Regions from separate parts of the Homo sapiens genome. Here region 2 is linked to region 1. The links are contacts of gene promoters, found by promoter capture Hi-C in human tissues and cell types (Jung and others, 2019). All regions are on one chromosome and are shown on one strand. Each heading gives the region's core, a stretch centred on a gene start or on the middle of the fragment in contact. The rest is flanking DNA. Distances are from core to core; before and after follow the strand shown. Region 1 holds the start of ARF4 (ARF GTPase 4). Region 2 has its middle 56 kb from the start of FLNB.

Region 1 (5,327 bases), core at 1,690-4,189:
AACTCGAGCAGTATGGGCAATATCATCACTTGCATAACTTACCCTTATAACTAGTACATAATTTCTGTCAATCAATAGTTCAGATGATGTTAAATTTGATACACTGTGTTGGTTTTTTAATTACAGTTAACTACAAGCTAACTTCCAATATCTTTTAAAGTTACTTGAACTTTTGAAGAACAGCAGGTGTACGAATTAAATTTAAAACTTCTCCATAGTAGTTTGGCAAACCTGACACATCAGCTAACTGCTATCTCCTTTATACTTTAAAATGGTAAAGTCTGAATAAAACACTGACTCAGGAGGGCATGAATCTTATCTAAGCTTTATAAAGAAAAACGAAGCACACTAATGTAAAACATTAATAATTCCAACAGTTGAATGGGGCAGACACTTTAAAAGTGATCTATTATTTTTGCTGTCAGTCACTCATAAAGCCAGACAGAAAAATGTAAGAATTATCAAACTTCCAAACCACCTTTTTCCCTGTTCATGCACATATCTCCCTCGTACGTTGATACTTCCTTTGATGAGTTACCATAAATGTCGATCTTGTGACTGAAGTGTTTTTTAGTCAAGGAAAACTGATTATCCCAAAATTAAAGTGCAAAACGATAGCATGCCTGAGTAATAAAACATTAAAAACAAGTAACTCCTAAATCCTCCACACAAATGCAGAAACTTAAATATTTTTTCTCTCCCATTTTCTTCGAATCATTTTTTGGGGTGGAGGGAAATGCCTCCCAATATAGTAAATATATGAAAATGCTGGTAGCATACTTCTATATTCCTTGCCCCTCTGATACTTTCATCAATCACAAAAGACTAAGGAATTGAAAAATAGCAATTCATTTACAATAAATCTTAAGTAAAAAGACCAATATACTATGTGTTCTGGAACATAACCATATATTGTTAAATCTCTTTAACGAACAGACTGGAAATTCATTTATCACAGTCCGAAGTCCTCCCATTAACTTCCGATCCTTTTTCAGACTGCCAACTTTCAGCCACTGAAAACTTAAATATGCTTGCCCTCCTAAAATAATTCTGTCCTCTTGACAAAGGAAATCTAAGAAACTTTGAAAGAAAAAATACTTTATGAATGACTCATAAACAATTGATTCACAAAGTGTAAGTACGCTAAGAGGAAAATAAACATGAGCCAATGTATATACTGTTACTCTTTATATACCTTGAAATATTACAGAAGCTTGTGTTTGCAAGTTTTGATGGTAGTACAGCTCTAAAATAAAACCTCCGGCCGGGCGCGGTGGCTCACGCCTGTAATCCCAGCACTCTGGGAAGCCTGGGTGGGTGGATCACCTGAGGTGAGGAGTTCGAGACCAGACTGGCCAACGTGGTGAAACCCCCGTCTCTACTAATAATACAAAAAATTAGCCAGGCGTGGTGTTGCATGCCTGTAATCCCAGCTACTCGGGAGGCTGAGGCAGGAGAATCTCTTGAACCCGGGAGGTGGAGGTTGCAGTGAGCCGAGATTGCGCCACTGCACTCCAGCCTGGGTGACAAGAGCAAAACTCCGTCTGCAAAAAAAAAAAAGGAAGAGAAAAATAAAACCTCCTCCGGTAGAAAACAAGCTAATGAACCAACAAGTTTCAACGTTCAAAGTTAGAGGGGCTTCTTTCAGCGTTATTCTAGTCCATGGAGCTCAGCTGTGATGTAGACTGCTTACAGTAACCGGGAGCGGTTGCTTACTTCAGCCAACTGACAGCCCTTCTCCCTCAGCTGAGCAAAAACACGCCCCCTAAAAAGTAGTTTTTAAAAAGTCAACTTTCTAAAAAGAAATTTTAAAAAAATTGTAGTTACTATTTAACAAGACTACCATAAAATTCAGCGTCATGATGTTCAGTTACTTGAAAATTTATCAGGTATTTTTTAAAAATTCGTTTCTAAAATTTTTTTGCATTAGACCTTAGACCGCCTAAAAATAAGCTTAAAAACCTAGGAGAATAAACCAAACACATTTAAAGTTTTTGAAAATAGTCAAAGAAATAGAAGATAAGCTCAGTTTTCGGAGAATGAGATTAACAAGGAGCGAAAAACTTGAAACGGAATCCAGCGCAAGGCCAAGTTTAGCAAAGTGAGCGCTGAAGGACTCCAGACTCTTCGGAAACCTTGGGTGCTCCCTGGCCACCGCAACTTCCTGCCCCGGGCGGCTCCAGGCTCCGGGTGGCCGCTGGCTTACATACCAATGGAGTATGCAGGGACTGTACACGAAACGCAGAAGGGGAGGGAAAAGGCTGGAGTTGCTCTGCCTCCCTCCTGACCGCTGTCCACACCCGGGCAAGAAGGTATGCAGATCGCACCCCCAGAAAGGGCCTCGCCAAGTGTTTGCTTCCCAGAGTTGGCTTTCCCCACATCTCTGCCCAATGTTGTCCAGCTTTCAATAAGATCAAGGAGAAAAAGCCGAGTCCAGAAAGAAATCTTGCCCGAAGCCCTGTCCCTGTCTCGTCTGGCGACAGATCGGGGGCGGGGGGGATCGCTCACCCTCCGCTCCATTGTTCCCCCTTAAGAATTCCTTCCGACCCCCGACCCGGCGCCCCTCCCCCACCACAGCGGGCGGAGGAAAAAAACAGGCCCAGAGGCCACCCCAATTGTGGAGACCCTGCCTTTCCCAGGTCCCGCCTGACTCGCAGCCCCTCACTCACCCATCAAAATGCGCATCTGCTTCTTGCCAAATAGTCGGGAGAAGAGGGAGGAGATAGTGAGGCCCATGGCGGTAGTGGCACTTGTGATGGGCAGAAGCAGAAGGGGTTTGGGGCGACCCCGTGCTTTCTCCTTTCAAGCTCCCAGGCAAACTAAACGAGAGGGAAGAGAAAGAGCGGAGGAAGAAAGAGGGAGGCAGAAACGTCTCAGTGGCCCCTGTGCCGATGAAGATCCGGCACAGGAATAAGCCGGTAGAGGACCTGCTAGGCGACTGGCGCGGCAGCTCCGGCTCTAGCCTTTAGGCTCTGGCTGTGCCACGTCACGCGGCGGCCGCGGCGACTCCAGCAGCGGCCCGGCCCCTCCAACGCGGACAGAATCGCGTCACCGCCGCCCCATCCCCCTGCGCTTCCGGTGCGCCCGAGCCACTGCGCTTGCGCCTGCAGGGGATTGGCCAGTTTCGCTGACGAGCATCTCTCGACGGCGCCACCGCCCGGACGTGGCCCCAGGAGCCGGGAGAGGCCGGCTGAGGCACATGCGTACTGGGAGACGGACAAAGTCCCACAATACCTCGCTTCGTCACTGCCAAATCAGACTCAGGGTGAGACGCTTCCGCCCGGATGAAGGTATTGTCGGGGTGATAGTCCTTGCTTCCGGAAAGGCGAGCTGAGCATTATGGGTTAGGTGAGGAACCTCGCCCTCTTCTATTACGGTACGCGCGATGGGTATTCCCTGATGCCATGAACTTACACGTTTCACACACGGGACCAGACGCTTGCTTTAGTTGACGCATGAAGACCGGTCCGGTCTTTTGCGGAGAAAAGTGGTTAAAAGCTGACTTGTGGGCCGAGAAACTGTGGCACCCTAATGAGCTAGGGCTAGACGCTTCGACCACCACGCCAAGTGATTCTGAAGATCTCTAATTCTGTCAAGGCGAGAGCGCTCCAACACGTGTTCATCGGCTGTTGCTTTTTAAAGAGAAGGCAAGGAGGAAGTCTTGCTTTTCTTGTACTTTTTTTCCTAGAAGCAGCATTAAAGATTTACTCCTTATGTTGAGGAAGCGGAAAGCCTCTTCACTTTAAAAGTGTTTATGATCGGGCCTGGCGCGGTGACTCACCGCGCCCGGCCTGCTACACCTTTTAAAATTCACAGCAATGATAAATGTATTAGACTCATTGCCAGGATAAAGATTTAATCTATTTTTCTAGTAGTGCCGTCCTATGTGGTTCTGTAGTTGCTTATTCCAACTGGTATATTTCCATAGGATGGGGTTGAATAAGAAAAACTTGCAAACTTTCAGAAACAGTAAGTTATTTTTATATTTTTGAAGGCTTGCTGAGTAACGCTTCTCTTGGTAGCACTACCTTATCTACCCTTCAGAGACTGTTATTTCTTAGGAGTGGCCCTGGGCAATTAAAAGCAAAAACTTCTGGCCGGGCATAGTGGCTCATGCCTGTAATCCCAGCACTTTGGGAGGCCGAGGCGGGCAGATTACGAGGTCAGGAGATCGAGACCATCCTGGCTAACACGGTGAAACCCAGTCTCTACTAAAAATAGAATAAATTAACCGGGCGTGGTGGCGGGTGCCTATACTCCCAGCTACTCCGGAGGCTGAGGCAGAAGAATGGCGTGAACCCGGGAGGCGGAGGTTGCAGTGAGCGGAGATCGCGCCCCTGCACTCCAGCCTGGGCGACAGAGCGAGACTGTCTTAAAAAAACAAACAACAACAACAAAAAAACCCCAAAAACTTCTTTACTCAGAAGTACCCTCCTTTGCATTGGAGATACATGTAAAGAGTTGCTTAGCAGTTGAATAACTCAAAATTGCATTTTGGAAGCTTGCTAAGTGACAAGACCTTCTTGTATCCTTTTGTGAACCCCCAAAATATGAGACAGGCCTCAGTTAATTTAGAAAGTTAATTTTGCCAAAGTTGAGGACACGCGTCCATGACATAGCCTCAGGAGGTCTTGTAGACATGTGCCCAAGGTGATCAGAGCACGGTTTGGTTTTATACATTCTAGGGAGAAATGAGACATCAATCAATATATGTAAGATGAACATTGGTTCATTCTGGAAAGACTGGACAACTCAAAGCAAAGGCAGGAAGACTCTGAGTGGGGAGGGAGCTTCCAGGGCATAGATAGATAAGAGACAAATGGTTGCATTCCTTTGAGTTTCTGATTAGCCTCTCCAAAGGAGGCAGTCAGATATGCGTTTATCTCAGTGAGCAGAGGGGTGACTTTTTAAAGAATGGGAGGCAGGTTGGCCCTAAGCAGTTCCCAGCTTGACTTTTCTCTTTAGCTTAGTGAGGTGGAGGCCCCAAGATTTATTTTCCTTTCACACTTTAGGCCTTATGTCTGTTTTTAGTTTTATATAGTAGAATTCCTTAAAACAATCTTCAACTAATTCTTAGGGTCTTCTTAAATTCAAAAGACAAACCGTATGAGCCCTCCTCCCTGTAACTTATTCCAAATCTTAATCCATGTTTTCTGTTTAGTTATGCAAAATAAATCGAAAGAATTCTGTTCTCCATCTCTAGCCTCCAAAACCTGAACCAAAACAAAAGTTGTCAAAACAGATTTTTCAGTAAGAATACACTACACATCAAGTGGCTAATGTAAATTACAAAACAGGATGTTAATGGCAGACTGTAATATCTCTAT
Region 2 (5,579 bases), core at 2,457-4,956, 360 kb after region 1:
GGCATGGTGGTGCACGCCTATAGTCCCAGCTTCTCTGGAGGCTGAGAGGCAAGAGGATCACTTAAGCCCGGGAATCTCAGGCTGCAGTGAGCAGTGATCGAACCACTGCACCCCAGCCTGGGTGACAGAGTGAGCCCATCTCAAAAACAAGAAACAAAACCAGTTCTTGAGCAAGACATACCTTTCTAATTTCCCAGTACTTTCCAGCTTTCCAAACCCTTCAGGCCCCACACCACCCTGATTTTTGTCACCTGCAAATAATAAAACTACAAACTGCACTGCACGTACACTTTTGTAAAGGCTTGAATCATTGACTTCCTCAGCCCCACACCTTCTGGTCAGCACAGGGCACTGCACTGCCACTCCAGACAGGCCTGGGCAGTGAGGAAAGGTGCCAGCCACGTGGGCTGGGGGTGGGGAAAGTGACTAATCATGAAATCCTAATTTATAATGTGTTGCTATCCTTAGTTGAGCATTAATTTGGCTCTCAGAAATAGGAGAAGGTGTGGGTGACTGGTCTGAGGAGAGTTTCTGGGCAATTAGAACAAAAACAGAAGCATGCTCTTGCACACAAAGTGGACTTTCTCTAGGGTGGTGGTATTCTCTGGAGAGCTGAACTCAGGGAGTCTTTATTATGTATACTTCTGTGTGTCTAAACTTTATACGGTGCTGGGTGCCGTGGCTCACGCCTGTAATCCCCACTTTGGGAGGCTGAGGCAGGAGGATCAGTTGAGCTCAGGAGTTTAAGATCTGCCTGGACAACACAGGCCTCGTCTCTACAAAAAAAAAATTTTTTTTAATTAACTGGGCATGGTGATGTGCACCTGTGGCCCCAGCTACTCAGGAGGCTGAGGCGAGAGGATTGCTTGAGCTGGGGAAGTTGAGATTTCAGTGACCTGTGATCAGGCCACTACACTCCAGCCTGGGCAACAGAGGGAGACCTTGTCTCAAAAATAAAATAATAATAATAATTAGAAAAACTTTACACAATGAACATATATCCCTTTTAGACCACATTTCCTGAGTCTAAGATGCCATTGATTGAAAGACAATTATTTTCTGTACTCCCCTGAAAGCAAACTGCTACAATGTGTCATCTATTAGACACATCTGCATTTTTGAGATGTTGAAATGTGAAAAAAATGTGCGTCTTCGAATTGACAGAATGAAGTAACTTTTTAAATTAAAAGATATTTTCAGCTGAGCATAGTGGCTCACGCCTGTAATCCCAGCACTTTGGGAGGCTGAGGCGGGTGGATCACCTGAGGTCAGGAATTCGAGACCAGCCTGGCCAACATGGTGAAACTTCGTCTCTACTAAAAATACAAAAATTAGCTGGTTGTGGTGGTGGGCACCTGTAATCCCAGCTACTCAGGAGGCTGAGGCAGGAGAATCGCTTGAACCTGGAGGTGGAGATTGTATTGTGGTGAACAGAGTGAGACAGAGGAAAAAAAAAAAAGATATTTTCCACTTTTGGAAAAAAATTATTTAAATTGCTTTTGCATTCCACTCTCCTGCTCAGAATGATTTCCTCAAAAAAGCCAAGGGAGTCACATTTGAAGATGAGGAAATTTTTTTTTAATGTTTATGTGCCAGTTTCTTGCTAGACCCTGTGCTTTCTCATCCCTGACCCCATGGAGGCCTCATGAGAATGATAAGCCCAAATAAAATTACCACTTATGGAAAAGGAGTAATTTTGCAAGGAAGGAAACTGAAGGTCAGATTGGTGTTCCTGATCATGCAGTTCAGTAAGTGAAGGAGAGGAGGTTCAAACTCAGCTGCTGAGCCCCCGCTCCCCTCTTCTCACCACATGCCTCAGTTCTAAAGCTGTCCTGAGAAAGGAGCCAGGTTGGAACCTAAGCCTCCTCCCAGAAGCCTGGGGAATCAAAGGGCAAAAGGGCTGAGGCCCGGGCTCTGAGGCCCACCCTGCGAATCCCGCTCTGTCTGGTGCAAAGGAAACTGACTTCCTCCATGCACACACTGCTCTGCCAATCTGAGTGACTCAGCCTCAAGATGACCTCACTGTCCTCAGTGGGCTGTTTGGCCGCCTGCTTCATGTCACTGAGCCTCAGCACCCAGCATGTCAGATATGGATTTACGAGTATTTTCTCTGCTCCACTCCTCGAATGTGGCTAGGTTTGAAAAGGTCACACTTCCCCTTGCCCTCCACCTCTCAGCTTTCTGTTGCCAGGCTGCCTCTGCCCCTCCAGCTGCTAAAAACAGCCCAAGCTGCGAAAGCTCTTTGCTCCTGCCAAGCTCTGGTTGGACCACCATCCAGGGGGAGCTGGGGGCTCAGCCTGGATTTTCCCAGTGCCTAGGACAGATGCATGGCTGGTGGAGGACGTTGCTTGCCAGCAAATTGGCAGAGTAAACTGAAATAGTAGCTCTGGGTCTGCGCTACAGCAAAGTATAATTTTCAGAAGGGGTCTCATACAAGTATAGAGTGACCACATGTCAAAGATTGATTTAATTCATTAACAAGGAAACCAACAAAAGGACAAAGCTGGTTTAAGAGATGATTTGAAAAAGTGGCTCTTTTAGTTTGCTAGGGCTGCCATAAGAAATTACCGCCAACTAAGTGGCTTAGAACAGCAGAAATCCATTCTTCTGCAGTTCATGAGGACAGAAGTCCAAAATCAAGGTGTCGGAAAGGCTGGCTCCTCTGAGAGGCACTGGAGGGAATCTGTCCATGCCTCTCCCCCAGCTCCTGATGGTTGCGGGCAGTCCTCGGCATTCTTGGCCTGCAGCAGCATCACTCCAGTCTCCGCCTCTGTGGTCACATGGCCATCTTCCTTGTGTATCTGTAGGCTCCAACTCTCTCCTTATAAGGACACCAGTGATTGGATTTAGAGCCATCTTAATCTAGTATGACCTCATTTTAACTTGATTACATCTGCAAAGTCTCTATTTCCAAATAAAGTCACATTCTCAGGTACTGGGGAATTAGGACTTAAACATATCTTTTTGCTGGGGACACAACTCAACTTTTAACACCTACATTACCAAACTCATTTCTCATTACTCAGCACCACAGACCCCTGGCTTGATAGGGGCATTTGGGGTGCTGGAAAGAACAGAGCAACAGGCAACGTTGATGTCAGCTTTGATCTGTCCCCAGCATTCTGGGATTCAGTGTCAGCCAGTGAAGGCTCAGTGAAAGACAGGGCATCTCCACCTCCGAAGTCAGTACCATGTAGGGTATAAAGAGAGACCTTGGAATCAACTTCCAGGATTCAGTTCCCAATTCTGTCCGCCACTGTGTGTGACTCCTGACATTTCTTCACCTCTCTGGGCCTCAGTTACCTCATCTGTGAAATGGGGGTGATAATGGTACACAGCCTATCAGAGAGTGCTTAGAGCAGCATATGGGAAGCTCTGAATAAATGTTTCCTGCTGACGATGATGATGATTATCCGAATCACTCTCACCTGCAGACACAGCTTTGCCGCTTTTTTGGTGAGATAGGCTGTTCCTGATGGACACGCTGGAAAATTTCCAGTCCCCAGAAAACAGGGCAAGGGCAGTTCCTGATTAGGATAAAGGAAGCCTCTCTGATGGTCACATGCCCAGGTGACTTGTAGGCAGAGGCCAGCCCTGCTTCCTGTCCCCACTTCCCAACTTGCCCTGCTTTTGTGAATGAGCTCTTTCCTAGCTCCTCATCCTGGGTCTAGTTTGGAAGGTAATTTCTCAGTCACTTTTGAGTTGACGCAGGTGGCAGTTTCCTTTATGAACACTCATAACCCAGGGTAAGCTTGACAGGGCAGTTAGAGGCCCAGAAACAAAAGTTGGGAACAACAGCCTTTCCAGCTAGAACTAGAGCTGGCTTGGTGAGAAACAGAAGGCCTCCCTGAGGTTAGAGGCCTAAGCAGACACCAGGTCTGGCCTTCCACATCCCTGCTGGGTGGAGCAAGACTGTCAGCACTTAGGAAGTGCCTTGCACGTTGATCTTTGGGAAGCGAGGGGCTCCTGTCATCTGCGTCCAGACTTCTCCATTCTCAGGTGGACCGCACATGGCCTGGCCAGGCCAGGCCAGGCCCTGAGTGGTGACTGTTGCTGCTGCTGCAGCTGCTTTTGACATTATTGTCTGTAGAATAAAGGTAGAGGCTGGTGGGACCGCTGCAGCCATTCCCTGCCCAAGCCTGACCCTAAGTGCATCTGAGAGTGCTCTGCGTTGAACCAGGAGGGGTCAGGCCCGGACTCTCTAGGCCCCTTTTCAGACACACCCTCCCTGACTTTGAGTCTTCCCCTTTTCAGGCCTGGAAGAGAACAAGGCTTCTTTTTGTTTTTTGTTTTGTTTTGTTTTGTTTTGATGAAGTCTCCACGGGGTTTCACCGTGTTGGCCAGGCTGGTCTTGAACTCCTGGCCTCAAGTGATCCACCTGCCTCGGCCTCCCAAAGTGCTGGGATTACAGGCATGAGCCACCGTGCCCGGCCTGAAACATTGTTATATGGCACATAACTGTATATGTATGTTTTACTTATTTTTTTATCTTTATTTTTTTGAGACAGTCTTGCTCTGTCACCCAGGCTGGACCACAGCAGCACCATCTCCGCTCACTGCAACCTCCACCTCCAGGGCTCAGGCAATTATTCTGCCTCAGCCTCCTGAGTAGCTGGAATTACAGGCGCCCACCATCACGCTTGGCTAATTTTTGTATTTTTGTAGAGGTGGGGTTTCACCATGTTGTCCAGGCTGGTCTCAAACTCCTAACGTCAGGTGATCTGCTCACATTGGCCTCCCAAAGTGCTGGGATTACAGGTGTGAGCCACCACACCTGGCCATCTTTCTGTTTTGTTTTGTTTTGTTGCTTTTGCTTTTCTTTAAGGGAGTGGAGATTTCTAGGAAAGGCATAATTATGGAGACAAAAAGCAGACCATTGTTTGCCTGGAGCTGGGGTTGACTGCAGATGGGCAAATGACAAAATGGACATGTTTGAAAACTAGTTTGTAGTGGTGGTTGCACTAGTGTGTAAATTTACTAAAACTTGTTGAACAATACACTTATTATGGGTGAATCGTATGGCATGCAAATGATTCTTCAATAAAGCTACTTAAAACGTATATAGTTGGGGCACAGTGGATTGAACTTGTAATCCCAGAACTTTGGGAGGCTGAGGCGGGTGGATCACTTGAGCCCAGGAGTTTCAGACCAGCCTGGGCAATATGGCAAAACCCCATCTCTACAAAAGATTAAAAAATATATATAGCCGGGTGTAGTGGTGAATGCCTGTAGTCCCAGCTACTTGTGGGCCTGAGGCAGGAGAATGGCTTGAGCCCAGGAGTTTGAGGCTGTAGTTAGCTGTGATTGTGCAGTGGCTCACACCTGTAATCCCAGCACTTTGGGAGGCCAAGTTGGGCAGATCATTTGAACTCAGAAATTCCAGACCAGCCTGGCCAACACGGTGAAACTCCATCTCTACTGAAAATACAAAAATTAGCCGGATGTGGTGGTGCACACCTATAATCCTAGTTACTCAGAGGCTGAGGCAGGAGAATCGCTTGAACCTGGGAGGCAGAGATTGCAAGTGAGCCAGGATGGTGCTGCTGCAGTCCAGCCTGGGTGACAGAGTGAGACTGTCT

What was found. The method cuts DNA at HindIII sites, captures the fragments that hold promoters and counts their contacts. A contact is called where the count stands out against the background at its distance.
Region 2: a fragment that was not itself captured here is called in contact with the fragment with the promoter of ARF4 in region 1 in 1 of the 25 tissues and cell types used here (H1 embryonic stem cells).

The regions. Positions count from the first base shown.
Region 1 is chr3:57,594,405-57,599,731 of GRCh38, forward strand. It overlaps ARF4 (ARF GTPase 4), which reads right to left and starts at 2,940. Exons shown (of 6, transcript NM_001660.4): 1 at 2,670-2,940. The coding sequence starts at 2,736. It overlaps ARF4-AS1 (ARF4 antisense RNA 1), which reads left to right and starts at 3,385. Exons shown (of 2, transcript NR_132370.1): 1 at 3,385-3,647. It also overlaps a transcript of PDE12 not described here. RefSeq lists enhancers at 2,344-2,393, 2,414-2,563, 2,477-3,676, 2,552-3,257, 2,594-2,643 and 4 more. The HindIII fragment of the contact is 4,316 bases long and covers 1,584-5,327 here.
Region 2 is chr3:57,949,612-57,955,190 of GRCh38, forward strand. No RefSeq gene overlaps it. Among named protein-coding and RNA genes, the nearest start is that of FLNB, 56 kb to the right of the region's middle. The HindIII fragment of the contact is 8,045 bases long and covers 1-5,579 here.